Linked DNA regions of Homo sapiens: all the other regions are linked to region 1. Evidence: promoter capture Hi-C in human tissues and cell types (Jung and others, 2019). All regions are on one chromosome and are shown on one strand. The core of a region is centred on a gene start or on the middle of the fragment in contact, and the rest is flanking DNA. Distances in the headings are between cores, read along the strand shown.

Region 1 (3,876 bases), core at 663-3,162:
GGATATTTGGGCTGCGTTTAGAAGGATGTATAGGTGTTTTCTGAATAACAAAGAGGCATGACAGTACTTCTGGCAAAGGAAATGGTGAGTGCCAATGCTTGGGACCAGGAAGCAGCCAGGTTGGTCAGGCAATTGTGTGAAGTTCTGCACAGAGGCAGGCAGTTTGCTTGGAAAATCCTGCAGGAAAAGGTTCCTAAGGACCAATTCTGACAGCCTGCAATGTAGGTGCTTAGATTTCATCTCATTAGAAATAGGAAGACCTTGGAGGTTTGGAAGGAGTGGTGGAAAAAGTGGAGTTTTTTGTTTTTCTGTTTTTTTTTTTTTAAGAGATGAGATGCTCTTTAAAAAAAAAAAAAAAAAAAAGCACTGCTATGCTTCCCAGGCTGGGGTGTGCAGTGGCAAGATCATGGCTCACTGCAGCCTTGAACTCTTGGGCATGAGCAATCCTGCCTCAGCCTCCCGAGTAGCTGGGACTAAACGTGTGCACCACCACGCCCAGCTAATTTTTTCATTTTATTTTATTATTTAATTAATTAATTAATTAATTTTTTGAGACAGAGTTTTTGCTCTTGTTGCCCAGGCTGGAGTGCAATGGCGTGATCTTGGCTCACTGCAACCTCCGCCTCCCGGGTTCAAGCAATTCTCTTGCCTCAGCCTCCCGAGTAGCTGGGATTACAGGCATGCGCCACAAAGCCCGGCTAATTTTGTATTTTTAGTAGAGACGGGGTTTCTCCATGTTGGTCAGGCTAATCTCCAACTCCAGACCTCAGGTGATCTGCCCGCCTCGGCGTCCCAAAGTGCTGGGATTACAGGCGTGAGCCACGGCGCCCAGCCAATTTTTTCATTTTCTTTTTCTTTTTTTCAAGGCCCGGCTAATTTTTTGTATTTTTAGTAGAGACGGGGTTGCACCGTGTTAGCCAGGATGGTCTCTATCTCCTGACCTCGTGATCCGTCCGCCTCGGCCTCCCAAAGTGCTGGGATTACAGGCGTGAGCCACCATCCCCAGCCTAGAGTTCTTGATAGTATCAGGGCTGAGAAAGTACCAGAGTTAGAGCCAGGTGGGGTGGCACTAAAAGTACAAAAAATTAGCAGGGCGCAGTGGCGGGCGCCTGTAGTCCCAGCTACTCAGGAGGCTGAGGCAGGAGAATGGTGTGAACTCGGGAGGCGGAGCTTGCAGTGAGCGGAAATCGCGCCACTGCACTCCAGCCTGGGCGACAGAGCGAGACTCTGTCTCAAAAAAAAAAAAAAAAAAAAAAAAAAAAAAAGAAAGTACCAGAGTTAGGAGGCTCCTAAACTGGTCCAGATGGGAAGTGACGGGGCCAAGGATAGGGAAGTGAAGATGGGAGGAGTAGGACTAACTTAAAGGCCATTTAGCAAAAATTCACCACGCAAGGCCCTATATTAGGGCGCTGGGGGCTCATACCTCATCGTCCCGTCAACTCTATAAAGCAGGGGCCAACAAACTTTTTCCATAAAAGGCCAGATCGTAAATACTTCAGGGTCTGCAGATCTGTAGGATCTTTAGCAACTACCTACTCTGTTGTAAGGCGAAAGCAGGCAGAGAAGCCAGGTAAACGCGTGGGCGTGTCTGTGTGCTAATAAAACTTTATTCAGGGACCCTCAAATGTGAATTTCACAAACTTTTCACAGGTCATAGACTATTCTTCTTTGGATTTTTCCCCCGGCTATGTAAACATGTAAAAATAATTCTGAGCTTGCGGGGCCGGACAAAGTAGGCGGCGGGTCTTGGCTCGCCTACCCCTGCTATATAAATCATTAATTATGATACCAATCTTAAGGAGAAGGTCTTCAGAAGAGTCCCTCAAAGAGCACCGCCCCTCAACGTCATCAAACCCCGCCTCCAAAGGCGGAGGCTGCGCATGCGCGGCAGGACCTCGGGCGGGGGCGGGGCGGGGCGCAGCTCCGACTTCGGACATGGCGCACGCTGGCGGTGGCAGCGGTGGCAGCGGTGCCGGCGGCCCCGCGGGCCGGGGGCTGAGCGGCGCCCGCTGGGGTCGCTCGGGCTCCGCAGGCCACGAGAAGCTGCCGGTGCACGTGAGTGGCGTCCCCGCCCTCCCTCGGGGAACCCATCTTCTGGACCCCGCGGGCGGGCGCCCCTCACCCAGGCCCCGCCCGGCCCCAGCCCCACCTCGGCCTCCCCTCTGCACTGCCCCGGACCCCTCACCCCTCACCTCTCACCTCGGCCCTCCGAAAGCCCAGCCCATCCCCTTCCCCTCAGGGACCCCGGCCCCTCGTCCCCTCGTTCCGCGGCCAGGGCCCACCGGGACCCTCCCCCTCTCTGCAGGTAGAAGACGCCCTCACCTATCTGGACCAGGTGAAGATCCGCTTTGGCAGCGACCCTGCCACCTACAACGGCTTCCTGGAGATCATGAAGGAGTTCAAAAGCCAGAGGTACCAGCGGGGCCCCTCTCCACCTCAGGGGACCCCCCTGGGCCGGAATCGGGCCTAGCGGGGTGAGACCTCCCCTCTCCAGCCTGCCCCCTTAGCCGGGTGACCTTGCGCAGGTTGTCCAATCTCTCAGAGCCCTAGCTCCTTCTCGTAACAAAAATGGAAATGGGTAGTACCCACCTTGTGGAGCTTTGTGGGGATTCCTGGAAGCAGGACAGGGATCTGGGGGGAGGCAGGGAGGGCGAGGCCGTGCACACTCATAGAGTCAAATCCTGCCTTGATTTAATATGTTGATTTTTATATTAGTTTTGTTCATGAAAGATTTGGTGGGACCCATTTTGATTTTTATTTTCAAGCGCTGTAAAATGTTATTGTCTTGATGATTGAAATTTTTGGCACCCTCTTCCCCTTTAATCTTGTCCTCAAGATGCTTCTCTGGGCTCACTGTGGTCCCAGGCCTGCTTGGAAGTAAGACGCATAAAATGCTTAGTAAGGGAGCTGGCACACAGAAAACGTTTAAAACACATGAGATGATTTTGCAGGCCCAGAATCAAGGAAGATTACAGATAGATGGGAAACCCTGGGATCATGCCCTTGTTTTTATAGGAGACTCACTGAGGTTTGGAGTGGGTAAGGGACCCACCTAAGTGGCAGAGGTGTCACTAGAACTCAGACCCTCTGACTCAGATTCTTGGAAGTCACATGCTTACCATACTGCTGCCCCCTCTTAGGAAACATGGTGGGGCTGGCCTGGTTTCCTTCCGGGAGCCCAGTGCTAAGGGCTGGGCTGCAATGCAGCCAGAAGGGAGACCCCATCTCTCCCCTCCTATTTTTCTTACACCTTTCCCATTCTTGGCAGTACCATTGGTATTTATGCATTGCAATTGTTTGCTCAGATGGAAACCTGTGTCATAGTCATCTCTATCTGATACAAAATGAGGGAAGTTTTCACATTGCTTAGAGGACTTTGGCCTCCTGCCATTTCTTGGAGTCCAGGCCTTGCGGTTGGCTCTCCTGACATTTTCAGAACCGAGTACCCATTCTTGGAGTGTTTTAGGGGAGCTGAGCGATGTCAGTATTCTCTGGTTCTCACCAGGAGGGAACAGGGAGCTCAGGCCTAGCCAGTCAGGAGATAGGTCATGGTGTACAGATGCTATCACATGGGGGCACTTTTTTTTTTTTTTTTGAGATGGATTCTCGTGCTGTCGCCCAGGCTGGAGTGCAGTGGTGTGATCTGGGCTCACTGCAGCCTCCGCCTCCCGGGTGCAAGTGATTCTTGTGCCTCTGCCTCCTGAGTAGCTGGGACTGCAGGCACGCACCACCACTCCAAGTTCGTTTTTGTATTTTTAGTACAGACAGGGTTTCACCATGTTGACCAGTCTGGTCTCGAACTCTTGACCTCAGGTGATCTGCCTGCCTCGGCCTCCTAAAGTGCTGGGATTACAGGCATGAGCCACTGCGCCTGGT
Region 2 (3,876 bases), core at 1,377-3,876, 440 kb after region 1:
CACGTGACTTGTTATTGTGTTGTTTCCTTCTCGGGGACAGCGGCTTCCTGCAGCCCTAGCGGGGCACACATACCTGACTCCCAAGGTTTCAGCCCCTCCTCTTCTCAGCCTCCAAACTCATGGCCCTTCTAGCTCTGACTCTTGGATTTTATTTCTCAAGAGCTAGAATGGGCCGAGCACCATGGCTCACACCTGTAATCCCAGCACTCTGGGAAGCTGAGGAAGACAGATCGCTTGAGTCCAAGAGTTTAAGACAAGCCTGGGCAACATGGCGAGACCCCCGTCTTTACAAAAAATATAAAAATTAGCCAGGAGTAGTGGCGTACGCTTGTAGTCCCAGCTACTCAGGAGGCTGAGGTGGGAGGATTGCTTAACACCTGGAAGTTGAGGCTGCAGTGAGCCGTGGTCACGTCACTGCACTCCATTCTGGGTAATAAGGCAAGACCCTGTCTCAAAAAGAAAGAAAAAAAAAGAGCTAGAATGTTCCCGTGAGCTGATGGTTTTTATTTGGCTCCCCTGTGAACTTTTCTTCTCTGCCTGTCTCTTCATTGTGGGCTGACAGTTCTCTTTTTTTTGAGATGGAGTCTTGCTCTGTCGCCTAGGCTAGAGTGCAGTGGCGCAACCTTGGCTCATTGCAACCTCCACCTCCTGGGTTCAAGAAATTCTCCTGCCTCAGCCTCCCGAGTAGCTGGGATTACAAGTGCCCACCACAATGCCCAGCTAATTTTTGTATTTTTAGTAGAGACAGGGTTTCACCATGCTGACCAGGCTGGTCTCGAACTCCTGACCTCAAGTGATCTGCCAGCCTCGGCCTCCCAAAGTGCTGGGATTACAGGCGTGAGCCACCGCACCCGGCTAGGGATGGGTTTTTCCCATGTTGGCGAGGCTGGTCTTAAACTCCTGACCTCAGGTGATCCACTCACCTCAGCCTCCCAAAGTGTTGGGATTACAGGCATGAGCCACCGACCCCACCAGCCCCAGAAACATTTAAGAGCCACTTGAAGCCTCAGTTTATTTATTTATTTTATTTTATTAGATGGAATCTTGTTCTGCCACGCAGGCTGGAGTGCAGTGGTGCGATCTCGGCTCACTGCAACCTCCACCTCCTGGGTTCAAGCAATTCTTCTGCCTCAGCCTTCTGAGTAGCTGTGATTATAGGTGCGCGCCACCACACCCAGCTAATTTTTTGTATTTTTAGTAGAGACGGGGTTTCACCATATTGGCCAGGCTGATCTCTAACTCCTGACCTCGTGATCCACCCACCTCAGCCTCCCAAAATGCTGGGATTATAGGTGTGAGCCACTGCCCCCAACTCCTCAGTTGTTTTTTTTTTTTTGAGGGTCAAAGAAGCCGGCCACATTGGCCAGGCTCTAATTCGAGAATAGCCGGAGGGGCTGTGTAAGGTGAGCTTTGAAGCATAAAGAACTTGCCAGAAAAGCAACAGGAGGAACAGCATTCCAGGCAGAAGGAACTTCCTGGGCAAAGGCTTAGAGCCTTCAAAGAGCCGCTCTAGGTGACACAGCGAGACTCCATCTCAAAAAAACAAAAACAAAAACGAAAAAAAAAAACACAACAAAAACCCAGCTCTACTAAAAATACTATATATATCTCAGCCGGGCCTGGTGGTGCATGCCTGTAATCCCAGCTACTTGGGAGGCTGAGGCAGGAGAATTGCTCGATCCCTGGAGGTGGAGGTTGCAGTGAGCCGAGATTGAGCCACTGCACTCCAGCCTGGGCGACAGAGCAAGACTCTTGTCTCAAAAAAATAAAAATAAATAAATAAATACTTCTGGGGCTAAGGGGGAAGTGTGCACTAAGAAGACAACGGCAGCCTGGGCGACAGAGTGAGACTCCATCTAAAAAATAAAAATAAAAAAAAAAGGAAGGAAGCCTAGGGTAGTCTGATGCGGTGGTCCTCGCCTGTAGTCCCAGCTACTTGAGCGATCGCTTGGCTGTAGTGACTAGCCATGATCGCGTGACTGCAGTCTAGTTTGGGCGACAGAGCGATACCCTGTCTCTAAAAATAAGAAAAAAAAAAGCCATGAAAAAAGAGGTAGGCTTGAAATAGGCCCGACTTAGCTTCGCTCCACCTACAGTGACCCAATAAGACCAGAGTAAGTATTTTTTGATTCATGCAAATATATGTAAAATAAGGAACAAGAATTAAGTAATTGGGAAGGGCCCTGGATGCTCAGGCCACACCCACATGGGAATACCTGCCCCACATGGAGGCTCAGGCCAGCTCCACCAATCACCAATCAGCTCCTCCTCTTTCCCTAAATCGGCCTTCTCCGTCCCTCTTAGCCTATCACATTGCAAGCTCCACCTCTATTCCACGTTTCAGCCTATCACGGTAGAAGCACTGACTATTGTAGTCTGATTCGGCCAAAAACAAAAATTCACTAATTTTTTTAATCCAATCACATTTCATACTTTGCTCCAGTGTAGCCAATCACATTCCAGGTCCCGCCGCACCCAGCTCCAGGCAGCTCTCACTCCAAACCCCACCCCCAACCCAGTTTCAGCCTATCAGTTTCCAAGTTCTTTCTAGCCTCAACCAGTTTCTGTCTCTGCTTGTTCTGCAGCCCGCTGAACTACATTTCCCAGGAGGCGTCGGGGCTGCGCCGTACAACTTCCGGCTGTAAAGATGGCGGCTTCCTAGTGAGTCGGCGGCTGATTTAGAAGGAGGTTCAGGCTACGGTGAGCCGAAGGTGGGTGGTGAAAGCGTGTGGGGCCCGTTCCTAGGGGCCCAGCTCCCTTTGCCCCAAGAGATCCAGCTCCTCGCCTTTCCTGGGGCTTCCGCCTTTATTTCTGGTTTCTCCTGCAGTGTAGCCTCCATCCTTCTTGCTGCCGCTAAAGCCTTGTTTTTCTTAGAGGTGTGGGGACTGCAAGGCGCTCAAAGACCATCTTGGGAAGCCCGTGCCTATTTCCCAGATAGACAAACTGCTCCATTCGCGTCCTGTTTCTCTCCAAGGGGAACCACAGTACTAATATTTTGCTTCTCCCTCATGCAGACACCCGCTAGGGACGAGGGTGTCCTAGAGGTTATTATTCCCTTATTCACCAAGACATTTTCAGTTTTAGGTAACAGAAAACCCTACTCAATCTGGCTTAAGGAAGAAAAGGAAGTTGGTGGCTTATAGATTGGGTCTAACAGGAGCTGGGTCCAGGTGGTCAGAATTCGATCTGCAGTTTTCTCGGTGGAGACCATTTCGCTTTTTACCGAGGCAAAAGGGGCCCCTCACAGCTCTCAACTTTATTCTACCAGCTCTGCAACTCTAATGAGAGTCTCTTTTCCTTGATGACACTGCTAGAAGTTGCAGAGCTGCCACTCAATGGCCTGATTTGGGTCATGTGCCCATCCCTGAGCCATTTTCAGTGGCCAGAGAGCTGGGATGTGCTCACTGGCCGAGTAGGGGCATGGGGCTAGCACTACGTTAAAAAAAAAAAGAGGAAAAAAGAGGGGGGACTGTTATCTTATGTCGGAGTGGCTGCTCGGCTGAGAGGTGTAAAAGGCAGCCATTCTGCAGCTGAGGAAAGTGACTCCCTAAGAGGAGTGACTCATCATCAGTAAGCGGCTCATCGCCCCTCTTCCTTCTTAGTAACCAATCTTTTTTTTTTTTTTTTTTTTGAGACGGAGTTTCGCTCTTTTTGCCCAGGATGGAGTGCAGTGGCGGGATCTCGGCTCACCGCAGCCTCCCCTCCCGGGTTCAAGCGATTCTCCTGCCTCAGCCTCCCGAGTAGCTGGGATTATCCGCATGCGCCACCACGCCCGGCTAATTTTGTATTTTTAGTTGAGACGGGGTTTCTCCATGTTGGTCAGGCTGGTCTCGAACTTCCAACCTCAGGTGATCCACCTGCCTCGGCCTCCCAAAG
Region 3 (3,876 bases), core at 351-2,850, 410 kb after region 1:
AAGTAAACAAAGTCACTCTGGTCCTCAGCCCTGAAGGCCCCACACCTACGCTCTTCCGAGAGGACCACCCAACCCCTATGCAAGCTGGAGATTTTCCTGGTCAGCCCTCAGTGAATGCCGTTGCCTCTTGCAGGGATGAGACAGGTGGCCCCACCCTGAGAGGTGGTGAGCTCCCCATCCTGGGTCAGCCCCCAAGCAGGAAGGTCCAGGCCTTATTCTTCAAATGTCCCCAGAACCTTCTCCCCTTGGCCCCTGCCCTTGGACTCCCCTGGTCTCTTGCCACCAGGAGCTGGGGGCTCTCCAAGGCCTGGGCCTGGAGCAACTACCCCTGGGGTTCCAGCTGGACACCCAGGGGACACACAGAGACAGTCACAGAGTAGAACCACCACTTAAGGGAATTAAACAGATGCATCTCTGCAGTGGCTCACGCCTGTAATCCCAGCACTTTGGGAGGCGGGGGAGGGTGGATCACCTGAGGTCAGTTCAAGACCAGCCTGGCCAACATGGTGAAACCCCGTCTCTACTAAAAATACAAAAATGAGCTGGGCGTGGTGGCGCATGCCTGTAATCCCAGCTACTTGGCAGGCTGAGGAAGGAGAATCGCTTGAACTGGGGAGGTGGAGGTTGCAGTGAGCCAAGATTGACCCACTGCATTCCAGCCAGGGTGACAGAGTGAGACTCTGTCTCAAAAAAAAAGAAAAAAAAAAAGGCTGGGTGCAGTGGCTCATGCCTGTAATCCCAGCACTTTGGGAGGCCGAGGCGGGCGGATCACCTGAGGTTGGGAGTTTGAGACCAGCCTGAACAACATAGAGAAAACCTGTCTCTACTAAAAATACAAAATTAGCCGGGCATGGTGGCGCATGCCTGTAATCCCAGCTATTTGGGAGGCTGAGGCAGGAGAACCGCTTGAACCCGGGAGGCAGAGGTTGCAGTGAGTTGAGATCACGCCATCGCACTCCAGCCTGGGCAACAAGAGTGAAACTCCGTCTCAAAAACAAAACAAAACAAAACAAAACAGATGAATCTCAGCTGCAGATACCCAGCCCTGCCCCTCAGGTGGCGACTGCCCCACTGAGCCTCGGTTTCCTCATCTGAAAATGGGAGGTCAGATATTGCCCTATCATATGGGATGGACTGGGTCAGAGGGGTTCACGGGGGACAGTGCCAAGACCCAGAGCCCAGCCGGAGAACCCAACTTAGGAAAGCTGAGGATCTGCGCCCACTCCCCCGTACCCCCCCTCCACCACTGCCTGGGTCCTGCAGCACCAGCCACTGAGCCCCTGGGAAGAGGCCCCACTAGGGCAGAGGGAGCTCAGGCAGAACCAGAACAAAGCCCAGCGGCTGGGTGGTGGGAGGGTCCAGGGCAGCCGGGTGGAAACGGCCTGGCCTGGGGCGGCCCTGCAGGCAGGCAGAGGCCCAGCTCAGGGGCCCCTGACCTCAGGGGAGGCCCTGAACCTTCAGTCTCAACTTCCCCAGCTGTGGAATTGGGACAGATCCATCCCTCCAAGGAGGGAAACAGTTAAGTTCTTCCTGTTATCCCACCTAAAGAGTGCAAGCTTTTTTGCCCAACCCCATGGCCCAACTCAGCTTCCTCCCTGGGCTTCTGGCCTCCAGTCCAATTTGATCAGAGCCCTCTCCTGCTCACACACCCTCTATGGCTCCCCATTACCCTCAGCCAGCATTTCAGGCCCACCTAGCTCTGACTTCTCCCATGGCTGCACAGTCCCCCTCTTACAGCACAGCTCCCCCAGTCTGCCACTAAGTGTTTTGTCTGGACCACATTCTGGCATGTCCCTGTGGCCTTTCTTCCACCTGCCAACTCCATGCTTCAAGGCTCATGTCCCCTAGCCTCCTCCAGGCAGCCCTCTCTGACCTCCAGGCAGAGCCTCTGCTCTCTCCCTGGGACCCCAGATCCCACAGACTTGGGGCATCTGTCTCACTGTGTCTCCTCCAGACTGGGGGCTTCTCAGGAGCTAGACTTGGAGCTGGGGTCTCTCTGGAGGGGCTGGCATCAAACTACCCAGGCTGGGCCCCAGCGAGACCCTGCTCAATCCATTTGAAGCTCAGAATGGAATGGTGATTTCACCAGGTCACACAACTGACACAGCACAAACCTGTCAGCTCCAAGCAAGGCCCCCCCCACCCAAAATTGCTGCTCCCTGACACCACCCTCAGGAAGCTCCTGGGACCCCAAAACTGCCTGAGCCCCCCTCCCTTACCCTCCCTAAAGATATGACCAGAGAGCAGGCGGTTTTCCAGCAGCAAGAATGAGGCCAAAGTCTAGTGGCCCACTTTGTGCTGGAGGAGGGAGCAAGGCAGCTCTGCCACACATGGCCACACCAGGCCAGCCCTGACCCGGGACCTGGGGCCAAACTCCACCCTCGGGTACCTGGGGCCCTATTTGGTGGCCTCAGCCAACAAGCCTTCCATCAGCCGTTCTCCCTGGGGCCACTCCGATCCGAACTCAGCGGTCCCCACCCTAGCCCCACAGTTCCCCCACAGTGCCCCCAACTCGGGCAGCGTCCCTCCATGTCCAACGCAAAGCAGGCACCAGGACCTCTCTCTGGGCCTTTGGGCCTCTGTTTTGGGCAGCTGGGAACTGAGACCGTCTAGACGGGCTCCACAGAGACCCTGCATGTTCCTGGGGTGCAGAGTAGGGGCTTATAAACGGACAGATCGGATGCTCGCCCGGGAACGGTGAGAAAAGAACTCCCGGGCTGGACAACCCCGATCGCTTTCCCTGGGGACCTTCCGCCAGAACAGCTAGCAAGGCCACGCCCTGCCAGAGAGGTCTCCGACCTGGGACAGCCCAAGGCTCCTGCTCGGAAACGTTTCACTCCCTGCCCGTCTCAGAGACACCCAAAGTTTGAGGGATTTTTCCAGGAGCCCCAGGTCTGCACCCACCCCTGGGGGAGAGGGACGTTTCAGTCAATTCCGGTGGCCCTGCCGGCCTTCCAGTGGCGATTTCCGGTGACCCAAGGCCCAGAGTGAGCCCAGAGGGGTTCCCTGAGATGGGCAAGCCCAGCTCCCACCCCCACCCCCACCGCTGGGCCCCTCATGCGAAGAAGGCCGCCCCGTGCCACCCCAGCCTCCCTCCGTCTGCCGCCTCCGTAGCCACAGCGACTTTGGAAGTGATATTTGACCCCAAGGGCGCGCCGTATCGATCCGCGCGGCCGCAGACAATGGCCCCTGGACGCTGCGAGCTCCACGGTCCAAGTTCCACGTTCGATTCCCTCGAGGGCATCCCGCGCGCCGGGATCCCCGAGAACGGGTGCCCTGGGGTTGGGTTACCACCCCTGACAGCACCCCTACCCCCACCCCAGCGCGGAGATGACCCCTCCCCAGAGAAAAAGCGGAGGGAAGGAGAAGCAAGTAACTGGGGCAAAAGCCTCCAGGGACCACCTGATGGGGGGGGAACCTGCAACGATGTAGCGCCGACTGTATACACAATCCCAGCCATGGAATGCGGGAGGAGGGTGCTGTGCCCCTATCTCAGAGGGGGCAGTGGAGGCCCAGGGAAGGTCAGCGCCAGGCCCAAGGTGACCGAGCAGGTCAGAGGCCTGCCCCAGGTCGGGGCGGGGTGCACGGCGGCGGCGCGCGGATGGGGGGCTCACCGGCAGGTGTAGCTGAGGTTGCGGCGGATGCTTCGCTTGAAAAAGCTCTTGCAGCCCTCGCAGGTGAAGACACCGTAATGCTTGCCGCTCGACTTGTCCCCGCACACCACGCAGTCCACCTGCAGCCCCGGCCGCTCCTCGTCGCCCGGCTCGGCGTCGCTGGCGGCACCGGGGGGCGAGGCCGAGTCGTCCTCGGCCGCGCGCGGGTAGCCGCCCGCCTTGTCCACGCCGTTCGTGTCGCCGCCGGGGCCGCCCCAGCCGC
Region 4 (3,876 bases), core at 784-3,283, 350 kb after region 1:
CTAATCTCAAACTCCTGGCCTCAAGCCATCTTCCCACCTCAGCCTCCCAAAGTGATGGGACTACAGGCATGAGCCACCACACCCAGTCCTCTTTTTTTTTTTTCTTGCCTCCGTTACCCCAAAGACAAAGTGACTTCTGACCTGCGGTAGCAGAAGCAGCATCCATCTCCCCAGGGCCTGGCCACAGGGCTGCAGGTCCCGCCCAAGGAGCATGTTAAGTTTATACAGATTCTCCCTTTCAGCTGCTCAATGCTAGATTTCTCATTTGACGGCTCTGAGGAGTTCGATATTAACGCTTTTGAGGACATCATTGCTTTCTATGAAAGCAAGAAGTAAGTGCAGAAAGGGCCTTTGATCCCGAGGCCAGCAAGGCACCAAGGGGAGCCATCTTCCCCAGGTGCTCAGTGCTGCGTCCAGGACACAGACAGAGAGGACTGGCCGTTCAGGGAATGCCAGGGCCTGCAAGGGCCACTCCTGCCAGATTTGCAGATTTAGCCAGGTCGGCAGGGCTGCGGGTGGGCCAAAGTCATGGGCCTCATTCCAAGCCGTGGCCGCTGCACTGACCACCCTGGGTGTGAAGGCCACTCGCATATAGAGGTGACAGGCGACCCCTCTGTTGCCTTTGCTCTGCCTCCCTGGAGGGCTGGGGAGAGCAGGTAAGTGGGGCCATGGGGGCACTTGGCATGGTGCATGGAGCACAGGGGCTGGGGTCGGGTCCTTCCAGGCCACCTGCCGAGAGCTAAAACATGTGCTTTGAACGACTGCCAGCAGGATGCGGTAGCACGCACCTGCAATCCCAGCGCTTTGGGAGGCCAAAGCCGGAGGATCACTTGAGGCCAGGAGTTTGAAACCAGCCTGGGCAACATAGCAAGACCACACGCCTACAAGAAAAAATAAATAAAATGTCTGGAATAAGGAATTCAAAAAAAAAAAAAAAGCAGGAAAAACCAGATCCTCATTTCTAGAAGTTCTGAGTTCTGTCAAAAACATTTGTCATTTAGACATTCCTCACTAATATTTAGTTTGAAAGCATCCAGTTTTCATCTCTAAGGCATTCTAATTCACACACGGTATCAGTGCCAAAGTTTGCACCTCCGCGTGCGTGCTCAAGCCTAAGCCCACAGCCATCAAACAAAATGAAGCGAGTAAGGTTGAGTGCTTTGAGGGTAATTATCCCCTTAAACTAGGGTTTCTCTGGCCGGGCGCAGTGGCTCACCCCTGTAATCCCAGCACTTGGGGGAGGCATACGTGGGCAGGTCACTTGAGGATGGGAATTCAAGACCAGCCTGGCCAACATGGTGAAACCCTGTGTCTACTAAAAATACAAAAATTAGCCAGGCGTGGTGTGCACCTGTAATCCTAGCTACTGGGGAGGCTGAGGCAGGAGAATCACTTGAACCTGGGAGGCGGGGTTTGCAGTGAGCCGAGATCACACCACTGCACTCCAGCCTGGGCAACAGAGCAAGACTCTGTAAAAAAAAAAAAAAAAAAAAACTAGGGTTTCTCAACCTCAGCACTGTGCCAGATCATTCTCTGGGGTGGGCACCCGTCCTGTAGACTGTAGGGTGTTGAGCAGCATCCCTGGCCTCCACCCACCAGATGCCAGGAGAGCACCCCCACCCCCAAGTCATGGCAACCACAAATGTCTGCAGACATTGGCAGATGTCCCCTGATGGGGATGGTACCGCCCCGGTTGAGAACTGCTGTGTTCAAACTGTGGCTCTTGTATTCAAATTAATTCCTCCAAAGGCCTTAATGAAGCCAACAAGGAGATTGACATCTGGCCACAAAATCATGGAGAGAGACTAATTTGCTCCTCCCACAGAGACCCTCCCTAGGGTCTTTTTTCTGAGTCGCCCCAACTGATTTTTTTTTTTTTTTTTTTTTTTTTAGACAGAGTCTCACTCTGTTGCCCAGGCTGGAGTGCAGTGGTGCGATCTCGGCTCACTACAACCTCTGCCTCCCAGGTTCAAGCGATTGTCGTGCCTCAGCCTCCGGAGTGACTGGGACTACAGGCATGCGCCACCATGCCCAGCTAATTTTTGTGTGTTTAGTAGAGACGGGGTTTCACCATGTTGGCCAGGCTGGTCTTGAACTCCCTACCTCAGGTGATCTGCCCTGCTCAGCCTCCGAAAGTGCTGGGATTACAGGCATGAGCCACCGCGCCCAGCCTGTCATGGAATTTAAAAAATAAATAGGCTGAGCAGGGTGATGCATGTCTGTAATCCCAGCTACTCAGGAGGCTGAGGCAGGAGAATCGCTTGAACCTGGAAAGTGGAGGTTGCAGTGAGCTGAGATCGCACCACTGCACTCCAGCCTGGGCAACAGAGCAAGACACTGTTTCCAAAAAAAAATAAAATAAAAATAAAAATAAATTTAAAACTAAATAAATATCCCCAGCCAGGCGCGGTGGCTCACACCTGTAATCCCAGCACTTTGGAAGGCTGAGGTGGGCCGATCACAAGGTCAGGAGTTCAAGACCTCCCTGACCAACATGATGAAACCCCATCTCTACTAAAAATACAAAAATTAGCCGGGCATGGTGGTGCACGCCTGTAATCCTAGCTATTTAGGAGGCTGAGGCAGGAGAATTGCTTGAACCCAGGAGGCAGAGGTTGCAGTGAGCTGAGATTGCGCCATTGTACTCCAGCCTGGGCGACAGAGTGAGACTCCGTCTCAATAAATAAATAAATAAATAAATATCCCCAAAGGCTCTTAAATATGAGAACTTTTTCAGTGATCCAAATGAAAAGGATCGAATAAAGTGGAATGACCAGATGGAAATAATTTTTTTTTTTTTTTTTTTTTTTTTGAGACAGAGTCTCGCTCTGTCTCCCAGGCTGGAGTGCAATGGATGGCACTATCTCAGCTCACTGCAACCTCTGCCTCCCGGGTTCAAGCAATTCTGCCTCAGCCTCCCACGTAGCTGGGATTACAGGTGCCCTCCACCATGCCCAGCTAACTTTTTGTATTTTTAGCAGAGATGAGTTTCGCCATGTTGGCCAGGCTGGTCTCGAACTCCTGACCTCAGGTGATCCACCCGCCTCGGCCTCTCAAAGTGCTGGGATTACAGGTGTGAGCCACCGCACCCAGCTGGAAATGATGTATTGAAAAGGATCAATGATCTGTGTTGCCAAGTCCAATTTGCCTCAAAGCCCTGCCCCGCTCCAGGGCTTGGGGAGGCTGGCCCAGTCCCCATTTCTGGCAAAAGAGAGAGGGGCAGCATTGAGCACAGTGTCTTTCCCCCAGCTGCATGTTTTGGCTTCAGTGGCCTGGGGATGGTCCCAATGGCGCTGGGAACCCCGAGGTGGCAGGCCTGCTTCTAACTCCATCTTCTTTCTGTCACTGCGCCCCCTCCACCCCTCCCCTCAGCGATTTGCATAACCAAATGATCAAGAGCATCAAAGGATTGCCCTGGCAGGGCGAGGACCCCCGTAGCCTTCTCCAGTCCCTCAGTCGGCTCCAGAAACCCCGCGCCTTCATCCTGTGAGTCCCCCACCAAGGCCCTGCTTACAAGTGCGACAACCGCCTCCCACTACTCCTGCGACCCCGGCGGGGCCTGCAGTCTTCCTAATTTGCATCGGCCACTAAAACCACAGTGCTGTCTCATGGCCCACCCCCAGCCATCACTAAATGCCAATCAATAACACCCCTGGCCTCTGTCTGCACTGTGGCCCAGGCACAGCCGGCTTCCCAGCACACGGGGCAGCTTCCCAGGAGCACTCCTTCTTCGAGGCATCTAATTTTCCACCCGCAAACGTGCCATCCTCCGTCTCCTCCCCGTGCCTATCTGGCTTGCAGAGCAAAGCTTGCTCCCGCCTTTGCCACTGTGAGTTTGCAGAGAAGCCATCTGCAGCAGGGCATGCGATTTCCCAG
Region 5 (3,876 bases), core at 494-2,993, 330 kb before region 1:
TGATCTCTGCTCACTGCAACCTCTGCCTCCCGGGTTCAAGTGATTCTTCTGCCTCAGCCTCCCGAGTAGCTGGGACTACAGGCATGAGCCACCACACCCAGCTAATTTTTGTATTTTTAGTAGAGACAGGGTGTCACCGTATTGGCCAGACTGGTTTTGAACTCCTGACCTCATGATCCGCTCGCCTAAGGCCTCCCAAAGTGCTGGGATTACAGGCATGAGCCACCGCGCCTGGCCTATTTTTCTTTTTAATACGAAAATTAAAATGAGAAAAAGTACCCACTAACCTTTTCCTTCTGAGGGGCATGGCCCTTGATCCTCAAATGCACTTGACTAGTGTCTATTAAGAGGGGCAATTTTGGTAATGCCTACTAATAACACATTCATATAAATATAATCCAAAGAAGGTTAAATACCATTGCATATTTGACAGTGCTTCAAGTATGATTTTATTATACCAAATAAGCTGAATATGTCTCCTTGGACTTCAGGGGACCTAATACCAATAAAAGTAATAATAATGATAATAGGCCAAGCACCATGGCTCACGCCTATAATCCCAGCACTTTAGGAGGCCGAGGCAGGTGGATTACTTAAGGCCAGGAGTTTGAGTCCAGCCTGGGCAATGTGGTGAAACTCTGTCTCTAAAAAAATTAGCAGGGCATGGTGGCGCACGCTTGTAATCGCAGCTCCTCAGAAGCCTGAAGCAAGAGAATCACTTGAACCCGGGAGACGGAGGTTTGAGTGAGCCAAGATCGTGCCACTGCACTCTAGCCTAGGCGACAGAGCGAGACTCCTACTACCAAAAAAAAAAAAAAAAAAAAAAAGGAATCTTTGGCAATAAAGAAAGGAGAGAGGAGGCTGGATGTTGTGGCTCATGCCTGTAATCCCAGCACTTTGGGAGGCCAAGGTGGGTGGATCATGAGGTCAGGAGTTCGAGACCAGCCTGGCCAACGTGGACCCTGTCTCTACTAAAAGTACAAAAATTAGCCGGTCATGGTGGCGCGCGCCTGTAGTCTCAGCTACTCGGGAGGCTGAGGCAGGAGAATTGCTTGAACCCGGGAGGTGGAAGTTGCAGTGAGCCGAAATCGCGCCACTGCACTCCAGCCTGGGCAACAGAGCAAGGCTCCGTCTCAAAAAAAAAAAAAAAAAAAAAGGAGAGAAGAAACAAAAAAACAAGGAAAGGAGCCCCTTAAGTTCTACCTTTGCCTTAATGTCTTCATCTGTAAAACGGGAATAAAAGCGTTTTGGCTGTGCCACAACTACCTAGAGAGGTTGCTATGGAAATGTAACATTAGGCTCAATTTGGTCCTGATTCTACACTAACCTTTATCTTTCTCTTTATGACCATAAAACTTGCCCGACGAAAGTCTAAAATGCCCAAATCGGGAGTCATTGGTGGACTGCAACCATCGGTTTCTCCAATGCTCTGTGGGGAAGGGGAAATAACACCGGTTAGAGGTGATAATGGTTAATTTGGGCTAAGGGAAGGGTGAAGGGGACCCTCGAGGATTCGAGGGTTCGCTGCCGTGGACCCCGTGGCGACTCTGGCCAGCCTTAGGGGGCGGAGATGGGGGAGCTTACACCTCCGCCACCACGGGCGTGGCCCCTTCACCTCCGTCTAGAAATTCCTCTTGGAAATAGACGGTAGCCAGCGCCACTCGCAGCATGCATATGGCCCAGAGCTGGACCAAAGCCCGGGCCATGGGGGTGTGCACTGCGCTTCCGGTCGCCGCCACCCCTTAGCTCCCAGCTCTCTCTGCGGCTCTTCAGGCGCGTCCCGAAACTACAACTCCCGTCACAACTCGCGATTATGACCTGAGGGTCCCATTGGTCGCTGCGGCGCGGGGCACGTTGGGCCCGCCCCGGAACTACCGCTCCCATGACACCCCGCGATTGTGATTCGGGGCGCCATTGGTCTGCGGGGCGCGGTGCTTCCCGGGAGATGTAGTCTCTTCTGCTCTGGCTCTGTTGCCCAGGGCAACCGCTCCTTCAGGCGTGAATGTGGCGGCTGCCTCTGCGAATGGACGGCGTGGGAAGAGGTCGGCAGGGCTGGTGGGGAGGTGACCTAGCTGGGCGTCCGGGCTCGCGAGGGGGATACGGGGAAATGGGGCCTTCTCCGGGGCTGAGCTGGTTGGGCCGCTGCAGGATGGTCCCGCGCCTCAGTTTCCCTGTCTGGGGTCTATTGGAGCATGGTCCTGCGCGGGTCGCTTCATAGCTGGGGAGAAGAGCAGGATGGTCTCAGGGGCGCCAGGGTTTTCAAGTTTTGGTTTGTTGATTTGTAACAACTTTATTGAGCCTTCATTTACATACCATAGTGTTCGCCACTTTTAAGCTGACGACTCCGTTATTTTTAGTAAATCTACAAAGTTGTGAAGCCGTCGCCACCATCCAGCTCATCCAGCTTTAGAACTTTGCGTCAGGCCGGGCGCGGTGATTCACGCCTGGAATCCCAGCACTTTGGGAGGCAGAGGCGGGAGGATCACTTGAGGCCAGGAGATCCAGACCAGCCTGGGCAACCTGGCGAGACCCCATCTCTAAAAAAGATAAAAATAAAAAATTAGCCAGGTGTAGTGGCACGCGCCTGTAGTCCCAGCTACTCAGGATGTTGAGGCAGGAGGGAGGATTGCTTGTGTCCAGGAGGTCAAGGGCTGCTGTGAGCTGTGATCATGCCACTGCACTCCGGCTAATTTTTTGTATTTTTAGTAGAGATGGGGTTTCACCATGTTTGCCACGCTGGTCTCGAACTCCTGACCTCACGTAATCTGCCAGCCTTGGCCTCCCAAAGTGCTGGGATTATAGGCGTGAGTCACAGCACCGGCCCGATCTGCTTTCTGAGTTTATTGGTTTGCCTTTTCTTGACAGTTCTTACAAATGAAATGATAGGGTGTGTGGAGTTTAGTGTCTGGCTACTTTCTTTTTTCTTTCCTTTTTTTTTTTTTTTTGAGACAGATTCTCGCTCTGTTACTTAGGCTGAAGTGCAATGGTGCGATCTCGGCTCACTGCGAACTCCGCCTCCCAGGTTCAAGCAATTCTCCTGTCTCAGCGTCCTGAGTATTTGGGATTACAGGCGCATGACACCACGCCCCGCTAATTTTTGTATTGTTAGTAGAGACGGGGTTTTACCATGTGTGTCAGGCTGGTCTCGATCTCCTGACCTCGTGATCCGCCCGCCTTAGCCTCCCAAAGTGCTGGGATTACAGGCGTGAGCCACTGCGCCCGGCTTGGCTACTTTCCCTTAGCGTGATGTATTTGAGATTCCTGCGTGCTGTTATATTAGTATTTGTTTTTTAAATTGCTGAACTGTATTACACTGTATGGATGGACCATAGTTTGTAATCCATTCACTAATTAATGGATAGTTACATTGTTTTCCGTTTTAGTCTACTAGGAGTAATAAATATTATGGGGCCAGGTATGATGATGTGGGATTGTAATCTCAGCATTTTGGGAGGCTGAGGCTGCGGATCTCTAGAACCCCAGGAATCTGAGAACAGCCTGGGCAACACAGTGAGACCTTGTTTCTACAAAAAGTTAGCTAGGCATGGCAATGTGTGTCTGTAGTCCCAGCTACCCAGGAAGCTGAGGTGGGAGGATCGCGTGACCCCGGGAGGTCGAGGCTGTAGTGAGCCATGATAACACCACTGCACTCAGCCTGGGCAACAGAGTGAGAGCCTGTCTCAAAACAAAACAAAACTATTACGAACATTTGCATACATTTGCATTTCTCTTGGGCCACATGGGAGTGGAATCCCTGGATCACATGGTAACTCTATGTCTAACCTTTTGAGGAACCAACTGTTTTCCACATTGAGGACTACATAATTTTACAATTCCCCCAACAACATATGAGGGTTCCAATTTCTTTATTTTTTT
Region 6 (3,876 bases), core at 736-3,235, 290 kb before region 1:
AACCTCCAGCTCCCAGGTTCAAGCGATTCTTCTGCCTCAGCCTCTCCAGTAGCTGGGACTACAGGTGTGTGCCACCACACCTGACTAAGTTTTGTAATTTTAGTAGAGATAGGGTTTCACTATGTTAGCCAGGCTGTTCTCAGACTCCTAACCTCAAGTGATCTGCCCGCTTCAGCCTCCCAAAGTGCTGGGATTACAGGCGTCAGCCACTACGCCTGGCCTCCTTTCAAGCCTTTTCTTTTTCTTTCTTTCTTTTTTTTTTTTGAGATGGAGTCTTACTCTGTCACTCAGACTGCAGTGCAATGGCGTGGTCTTGGCTTACCGCAACCTCCACCTCCCGGGTTCAAGCGATTCTCCCGCCTCAGCCTCCCAAGTAGCTGGGACTACAGGCGCGGGCCACCACACCCGGCTAATTTTTGTATTTTTCGTAGAAACAGGGTTTCACTATGTTGGCCAGGCTGGTCTCAGACTCCTAACCTCAAGTGATCTGCCCGCCTTGGACTCCCAAAGTGCTGTGATTACAGTATGAGCCACTGCAACAGGCCTCCTTTCAAGCTGTTTAATCGAACACCAACTGTGTGTTATGTATTAAGGGACAATGACCTTGTACCTTAATACAAGACGAGCGTGTAGTCCCCTGAACTACACGCTCGCCGAAGCCAAACAGACCTTGTTTGGGTCATTGTACCTTAATACATAACACACAATTGGCGTTCGATCAAACAGCGGACAACCACCTCTCAATGTCCATCTACCTGGCAAACTCCTAGTTATTCATTTAAACAATCTAGAGACGGGGTTGGGTACTGAACGTGACAGATGTGATACCTGCCCTGAGCAGCCGCACCACCTGGTGACTATCCATTATTCAAAGGCCAGCTCTGCTTCCTAACTTTAAACTTCTTTAGAGCAGGACTGGAATCCTGTTGCCTAAATGAACGAACATTGATAAACACTTGCCAATAACTAAAACTCAGAGGGATAATTCTTTTTGATTTCTGCTGCAGGCATCTGAAATGCACAAAACCTTGCTGGACCCACAGGGAGACGGCAAAGGGGGCTGGACAGTGCCTGTCCCATGGACTCCCATCCGGCCTCTATCACTTCCTCCCTAGAAAACACTAAAACAATCACGCTACTCCTGCTAATCTCCGTCATCAGTCTGCAAAACAACAGCAAAATCCCTGATCCAGAGCCCAGGGGGGAGGATCGAAAACCTCGTTGTTCTCCATTACAGTGGCACCCAGCAGCCGCTCTGTGCAGGGCCGTGGGAACAGCGGAACAGGGATCGTGTGGACCGAGCTGCTCCACTTCAAAGAATAAACGACCCGAAAGAAAGAGGTTTGTGGCAGAGCCCGGACTGGAATCCGAGAAAGGAAGCGCTCGATGGGACGGCCTGAGTGCCGGAGGGGACTCACGCTGCTGCTGCTCCAGCGCCAGCTTGCACTTGTAGTAACTGTAGAATTCGCCTCCGAAAAGAAACGAGAATTTGGGGTTGTCCTTCTGCTTCTCCATAGTCATCTTCTCAAACTCGGGCCCATTGCGAGCCACGAACTGGGCGAGCTTGTCGATGACATTTCGAAGCTCCTGGTCTGGAGGACGGAGAAAAGGCCACGCGGGGCGTCAGCGAGGACCGCCCAAAGCCGGGGGACTCGGCGCCCCAGCCCCCGTCCGCCTTGCCGGGGACCCCAAGGGGGTGGGCCCCGAAGAGGCCGCCCTTGTACGGGTCCCGATAGGGGCCACACGCTCGCCGGGAATGCGGGGACCCACGGGAGAGGCCGCAGGCGAAGCCGCGAGGCCGAGCCCCGCCCCCTCCCAGACCCGGGGACTCCGGGAGGCGGGGCCGGCCAATAGGAGGTTCCGGGGAGAGAGAAACGGTCTCTCGGCCGGTTTGGGTCTCACCATCGGGGGGCAGCGGCATCTCCATGGCTCCGGCCGCGGGGAACGTCCTCCGGCGCCACACGATCGACCACCAGCGCCGTCTGCGGAAGCCGGCCGGAAGTGGCGCGAGGGAGCCGTTTACGGCGGGCTTCTAGGGCCGCTTCCGCCCGCCACTTACGGCCGTCGCTGGGAAACTCCGGAAGTGAGAGCGGGAGGCAGGCGGGAAGAAGCCGCGCGATGCCTGGCGCGCGGGAGGGGCTAGCGACGCGCACGCGCAGAAGTTTCCTGACACTTTCGCAGAGTGGGTCCCCGTCGCGCGGCGCCGCGGAAAGGCTGGAACGGCGCGGGTGGGTGTTAGTCGAGACCGGGGGGCGCGGGGCGTGCCCCTTGGTCGGCGTCGCAGCCCGATGGGCTGGCTGGTTGCTACCTCCGGGCGACCAGGGGCCTGGGGACTTCGTGCCTGGGCCAGGGTCTCTTTCCTTTCGCGGGCACAGTGAGGAGACTGCGAGGTGAGGTGCGTCCGGGTGGATCCCGGGCTGCGGCGACTGTCACATTCTCCCCGGCCAGACCGGAGGTGGAGCAGAACTGGGGGCGACGAGCTTGACTGGGATTGCAGCTGGACGTATTTAGGTTCAAAACATCCTCCTCCTGGCTTTCTTCCGCTCCACTCTTTGGTCAGGAAGACTGGGGCGGGGTACCCCCCAACCCATGCCCTCAAATTGCTGGCCTAGAGGGCACAGCGCCTTTCTAAAAGCTGCAGTTGGGTTGCCTCTAAAATAATGAAGCTAACCCTTGCTAATTGTGGGGAAAAGATAGCCAGAAGCAGCAAATTTCTGCTGTGGACGTCCGATATAAACTGATCCTCTTGAGATGGTTAATGCTTAGTTGGCTATACCTGCCCCCCGCCCCCGCCGCTTTTTTTTCCTTTATCCGTTTTTTTTTTTCTTTTTTCTTGAGACAAGGTCTTGCTCTGTGGCCCACGCTGGAGTGCAGTGTCATGATCATAGCTCACTAGCCCTGAACTCCTGTGCTCAAGTAATCCTCCCGCCTCGGCCTCCCAAAGTGCTAGGATTATAGGCATGAGCTACTTTACCCAGCCTGTTTTTTTCTGTGCAAATAAATGCACATGTATTTTAGATTAGTTTCATTTTTATTGTTAACAGCATTTTTCCACCAGATGCTTATGGATTGACAACTCTACATCAAGTGTTGCTGTAGGCTAGGAATCAACAAAACTTTTTGTATAAAAGGGACAGAAAGCAAATATTTTAGACTCTGCAGGTCAGGAGGCAAGATCAAGGATTTTTTTTTTTCTAAATGTCCTCTAGTTCATATTTTCTCATGAAGATCGAGGATCTTAATTGTTTGGTTTTTTTTTTTTTTTGAGACACAGTCTTGCTCTCTCTCGCCCAAGCTGGAGTGCAGTGGTGTGATCTCGGTTCACTGCAACCTCTGCCTCCCGTGCTCAAGCAATTCTCCTGCCTCAGCCTCCAGGGGAGCTGGGACTACAGGTGCGCACCACCACGCCCGGCTAATTTTTGCATTTTTAGTAGAGATGGGGTTTCACCAGGTTGGCCATGCTGGTCTTGAACTCCTGACCTCACATGATCTGCCTGCCTTGGCCTCCCAGACTGCTGGGATTACAGGTGTGAGCCACCCTACCCAGCCTTATTTAGGTATTTCTATAACCAGAAAGAAAAGTTCATAAAATTTTTGTTGGTGAAAATCAAAATATGATAACTGAGTAGTTTCTTAAATACAAGTTGCTACAGTTTGAATGTTTGTTCCTAATCCCCAGTGAAACAGTATTAAGAGGTGGAGCCTTTAAGAGGTGATTGGGTTATGAGGTCGTGCCATTCATGTGTTAATGGATAAATAGGTTATCATGGGAGTGGGACTGGTTTGGAGCTTGCAGTGAGCTGAGATTGCACCACTGCACTCCAGCCTGGGCGACAGAGTGAGACTCCATCTCAAAAAAAAAAAATAAATAAAATA
Region 7 (3,876 bases), core at 460-2,959, 260 kb before region 1:
ATTTCTAAGACTTTGCTGGATTTTGCCAAGATCGAACTCCTTGGATCGCGTCTGGCTTCTGATCCCAGAGGTCCCCTGACAGAAATCTCTTGTCAAGAAGTGAAAACCTAGCCAAGTGCAGTGGCTGACGCCTGTAATACCAGCACTTTGGGAGGCTGAGGCGGACGGATCACTTGAGGTCAGGAGTTTGAGACCAGCCTGGCAACATGGTGAAACCCTGTCTCTATTAAAAATACAAAAAAATTAGCCAGGTGTGGTAGTGCACGTCTGTAGTCCCAACTACTTGAGAGGCTGAGGCAGGAGAACTGCTTGAACCTGGGAGGCGGAGGTTGCAGTGAGCTGAGATTGTGTCACTGGACTTCAGGCTGGGCAAGAGTAAAACTCCGTCTCAAAAAAAAAAAAAAAAAAGTGAACACCTAACCGACAGCGTTCTGATCCATCCATCCCTAGTCCCACTGGAAAGGCCACACATGGGGTGTATGGCCAAGATGTGACCAACCCATCACCTACCAGCAAACCCAGGTAGGGAATCAAAACGGGGAGGAAAATTGGATCTGAAAGGGACAACAGTGTTCCTAAGACCACACAGCAGAGATCACAGAGGGACACATACTCCACACACCACTGCTCACAGGGTGATTCTAGAACTTGAGTAGTAAAAGGCCACTGGAGACCTCTACACTGACTTCCCTATTTGACGGGAAGCCAGGCAGCCTGCAGACCAGGATCCTGACCACGTCACCAGTTGGCAACAGGGAGGAACCCCCTGGAGCTCCCATCTGCCCAGAGTCCCTGCCCGGGGTTACCTTGGTGCTCTGCTTCTCCTTCATAATGATCCGGGACAGGAGGACCACCCAGATGGGCATGGTGGCCTTGACTGCAAAGAGAGGGATGGGCACTCAGGGGGCTGCCTGAATTTCAGGGCCCAACCTGTTCCACCTCCACGGCGGGATGGGAGGGCCTGGCAGCCCCTCACACCTCTTCGCCCCTTCTCTTTCGGTAGGGCTTCCTCCTGCCACGGCTGTTGTGGTCTGTCCTGCTTACCTCTCAGCTCTCTTCTCAGCTCCTCTTCTCCCTGAGAACCCCGTGCGTGTCCCTCCCCTACCAAACCCTTGGCAGCCCCTCTGCTGACTTCTCAGTCCGGCGGGACGCGCCCCGGGCGGCGCACTCCTATCCATGCGCCCAAACCCGAAGCGGCGGGCCCGGCCGCCGCCCCCGAGGCCGGGCGCGGAACCTACCGGTGTGTGCATAGGACACGGGCACCTTCCAGATGCTGACGTGCGCTGACACGGACGCGAAGTACTTGCCGAAGGCGAGCGGTAGCACGTAGCGCGGGTAGAAGCGCGGCGGCAGCAGCGGGCCGGACGACGGATGCGGACTGGGTCCGGGGCCCGAGACGGGCGGCGCGGGGGGCACGCGCCAGGCGCGCAGCAGCGGCGGGAGCCCAGCGCACAGAGCCAGGATGTGGCACAGCGACACGGTCACCGGGAACGGGAAGGCGCTCAGGATCACCTTGTTGACCACGTTGCCGCCCGCGCTCAGCGCGTACCACAGCAGGCACAGCGCCGCCACCCGCGCGCCCTCGCGCGCCCCACCACTGCTGCTCGCTGCGCCCGGGCCCCCCGCGCCGTGGCCCGCGCCCACCGCGGCCGCCGCCATCCTGCCCGAGCGGCCGCCCCTTCCAGCCCGTCCGACGGCCCGACGCCGGGCGGGGGCGGGGCTGGGCGGGGGGGCAGGCGCCCCGGTCTACGCCGTTTCCCATTGGTCGCTGCCTCCTCGCGTCATCCCTCCGCGCCGGCCGACGCGCCAGCCACCACGTCTCGAGTGCAGGCCCAGTCCACTGTAGATGCGCTTCCGGCGGAGCCGAGGCCGGAAGCGGAAGAAGGGGACACAGACCTGCGTCCAAGCTGTGCCACCTGAGACGTGGGCGGTCCCAGTGACCGGGAGCCGGAGCTCGAACGGGACGGGCGAACAGAAGCGCGGAGGGCTTCGCAGCGTCGGCGTCTGTGCGTGGGCCAAACATCAGGGCCTCGACCAGGGATACAAGGGCAACCGCTAACTAGATTCCTGATTCCTGATGGCTGGCGGCGGCTGACACCAAAGGTAAAAGGCCTTTTAGGGAAAGAAACCATTTGTGAAAAGCTCTTGGGCTAAACTCGCTCTGCAAACTGGGGGCGCACGCTCGTGGCCAAACTCTGGCAGTGGGACTATCCCGGAGCACCCGATCCCTGGAATCATGTTCTGGAAACCACCGCGACGTGCGCAGTTCTCGGGCGTGGCCCTGGTATCATCCCACTGAATCCTAGGAACGCGGTGCGGTAGGTATCACTGTCCGCATTTCACAGACCGAAGTCCAGAATGGGGAAGCGACTTGTCTTAGGCTTCCTGGCCACACTGGGGACCGTGGTCATGGTAGCGTCCTTGGACACCTGTCTCCAAGGCTCTGCAGAAGGGGGAGGTGCCGGGCCCTGACGGCTGATGTCCAAGGACCAGCCGGGATGGACCAGCCCCAGGAGGCCCCAGTGGAGGAAAACAGGACGAGGTTTTCAGTAAGATGATCTTATACTAATTCAAGGGCTATAATTTGTTCTCCACATCGTGTGCCTCCAACTTTTTCGGGGAAAGGGTGTTAAAATTCCGTTACAGTGTTTTTACTTGTCAAATTAGAAGCAGCAACCGGCTGGGTGCAGTGAGTCAAGCTTGGAATCCCAGCACTTTGGGAGGCCAAGGTGGGCGGATTGCTTGAGCTCAGGAGTTGGAGATCGTGGCATCGATAACATGGCAGAACCTCATCTTTGCAAAAAATACAAAAATTAGCCAGGCGTGGTGGCGCACGCCTGTGGTACCCACTACTAGGGAGACTGAGGTGGGTGGATCGGCTTGAGCCCAGGTCAAGGTTCCAGTGAGCTATGATGGCGCCACTGCACTGCAGCCTGGGTGACAGAGCGAGACCCAGTCTCAAAGAAAAGTAGAAAGCAGCAACCCAACTTGGCTCCCCAAATGTTGGAAGGTATCTTAGCTTATCCTTGCATTCTCAAAGGCCCTAGGCCCTTCTGGATACATGGACACAGGCATGGTAGTCCCTGCAGGCAGGGGTAGTGGGGAGCTGCAACCTATCCCAAAACTCTAGAGATGCTGATAGGAGGCCAAGCTCTGCACCCTAATATCCTCCAGCTGTACCCTCTGTGGATCAGAGTAAAGTCACATCCTTGGGACACCATGTCTCAGCAGAGCTGTTAAACATAGGCACAGTGAAATTAGGAAAGTATAACTATAGGCACCCTACAGCACAGCTGAGTGTCAGATACTTCCACTGACACACTGACATGCTTTGTGTTTTAGTTCTCACAACTCTGGGGTATTCTCACCCCCCAAATGGGGACATGTGCACAGGAGTGAAGAGATGAGCTCAGAGCCACACAGCTGGTGGGTGGTAGGCCTGGGTTCAACCTCATCCTGCCTTCAAAGCCACTTTGCCCATGGCCTTTTGTTGGGGAGGGGAGTGTGTTCTGCACCAAGCTTTTGCCAGGAATCCCTGCTAGCTCTCAAACTGGCTCTGGACTGACTGTAGTCTTACAGGCTGGAAGGAACCTTTGGTTTGCCCTGTGAGACTGCATGTCTTAAGGTGTAGCTGTTTCTTCATTTGTGAAATTAAGCAGATATGGGTAAGATGACCTATTCCAAAGTGAAAAACTGGAAAACCAAAGTCTTAGCCTACAGTTTCAGGGACGAGGGGGAACTAAAAGATGAGCACTTTATAGTCAAGGGAGAAAAATTTTTTTGGAGTCAGCACCAACCAGCTAATAAGGCAGCTGGGGGCCAGGGCCATGGGGTGGCCTTTCAGACACACACACACAGCTCTGAGCCTCTGGGCCA

Evidence for each region. Contacts are between HindIII fragments. The study calls those that stand out against the background at their distance.
Region 2: a contact is called between the fragment with the promoter of BABAM1 here and the fragment with the promoter of SIN3B in region 1, in 2 of the 25 tissues and cell types used here (IMR-90 fibroblasts and heart left ventricle).
Region 3: a fragment that was not itself captured here is called in contact with the fragment with the promoter of SIN3B in region 1 in 2 of the 25 tissues and cell types used here (lymphoblastoid cells and spleen).
Region 4: a fragment that was not itself captured here is called in contact with the fragment with the promoter of SIN3B in region 1 in 1 of the 25 tissues and cell types used here (H1 embryonic stem cells).
Region 5: a contact is called between the fragment with the promoter of CALR3 here and the fragment with the promoter of SIN3B in region 1, in 2 of the 25 tissues and cell types used here (IMR-90 fibroblasts and pancreas).
Region 6: a contact is called between the fragment with the promoter of CHERP here and the fragment with the promoter of SIN3B in region 1, in 1 of the 25 tissues and cell types used here (mesenchymal stem cells).
Region 7: the fragment with the promoter of SLC35E1 here is called in contact with the fragment with the promoter of SIN3B in region 1 in 1 of the 25 tissues and cell types used here (H1 embryonic stem cells).

Annotation. Positions count from the first base shown.
Region 1 is chr19:16,827,486-16,831,361 of GRCh38, forward strand. SIN3B (SIN3 transcription regulator family member B) reads left to right here and starts at 1,913. Exons shown (of 19, transcript NM_001297595.2): 1 at 1,913-2,055; 2 at 2,306-2,412. The coding sequence starts at 1,936. RefSeq lists an enhancer at 1,639-2,140 and a silencer at 1,881-2,060. The HindIII fragment of the contact is 27,079 bases long and covers 1-3,876 here.
Region 2 is chr19:17,264,817-17,268,692 of GRCh38, forward strand. It overlaps BABAM1 (BRISC and BRCA1 A complex member 1), which reads left to right and starts at 2,627. Exons shown (of 9, transcript NM_014173.4): 1 at 2,627-2,711. RefSeq lists enhancers at 1,677-2,136, 2,397-2,896, 2,404-3,115. The HindIII fragment of the contact is 20,462 bases long and covers 1-3,876 here.
Region 3 is chr19:17,241,329-17,245,204 of GRCh38, forward strand. NR2F6 (nuclear receptor subfamily 2 group F member 6) reads right to left here. Exons shown (of 4, transcript NM_005234.4): 1 at 3,615-3,876. Among named protein-coding and RNA genes, the nearest start is that of NR2F6, 2.7 kb to the right of the region's middle. The HindIII fragment of the contact is 5,712 bases long and covers 1-3,876 here.
Region 4 is chr19:17,177,555-17,181,430 of GRCh38, forward strand. MYO9B (myosin IXB) reads left to right here. Exons shown (of 40, transcript NM_004145.4): 15 at 3,373-3,486. Among named protein-coding and RNA genes, the nearest start is that of USE1, 36 kb to the right of the region's middle. RefSeq lists silencers at 210-393, 3,706-3,876 and enhancers at 3,019-3,611, 3,612-3,876. The HindIII fragment of the contact is 3,887 bases long and covers 91-3,876 here.
Region 5 is chr19:16,494,424-16,498,299 of GRCh38, forward strand. CALR3 (calreticulin 3) reads right to left here and starts at 1,744. Exons shown (of 9, transcript NM_145046.5): 1 at 1,616-1,744; 2 at 1,328-1,429. The coding sequence starts at 1,706. It overlaps C19orf44 (chromosome 19 open reading frame 44), which reads left to right and starts at 1,971. Exons shown (of 9, transcript NM_032207.4): 1 at 1,971-2,042. RefSeq lists enhancers at 1,008-1,508, 1,509-2,009, 1,644-2,073. The HindIII fragment of the contact is 12,389 bases long and covers 1-3,876 here.
Region 6 is chr19:16,540,452-16,544,327 of GRCh38, forward strand. It overlaps CHERP (calcium homeostasis endoplasmic reticulum protein), which reads right to left and starts at 1,986. Exons shown (of 17, transcript NM_006387.6): 1 at 1,903-1,986; 2 at 1,419-1,592. The coding sequence starts at 1,927. RefSeq lists silencers at 1,618-1,687, 1,698-1,887. The HindIII fragment of the contact is 9,580 bases long and covers 1-3,650 here.
Region 7 is chr19:16,570,706-16,574,581 of GRCh38, forward strand. SLC35E1 (solute carrier family 35 member E1) reads right to left here and starts at 1,710. Exons shown (of 6, transcript NM_024881.5): 1 at 1,239-1,710; 2 at 807-877. The coding sequence starts at 1,659. LOC105372295 (a long non-coding RNA gene) reads left to right here and starts at 1,845. Exons shown (of 3, transcript XR_936360.3): 1 at 1,845-2,103. RefSeq lists silencers at 1,077-1,206, 1,367-1,476, 1,607-1,826 and enhancers at 1,745-2,619, 1,927-2,016. The HindIII fragment of the contact is 29,713 bases long and covers 1-3,109 here.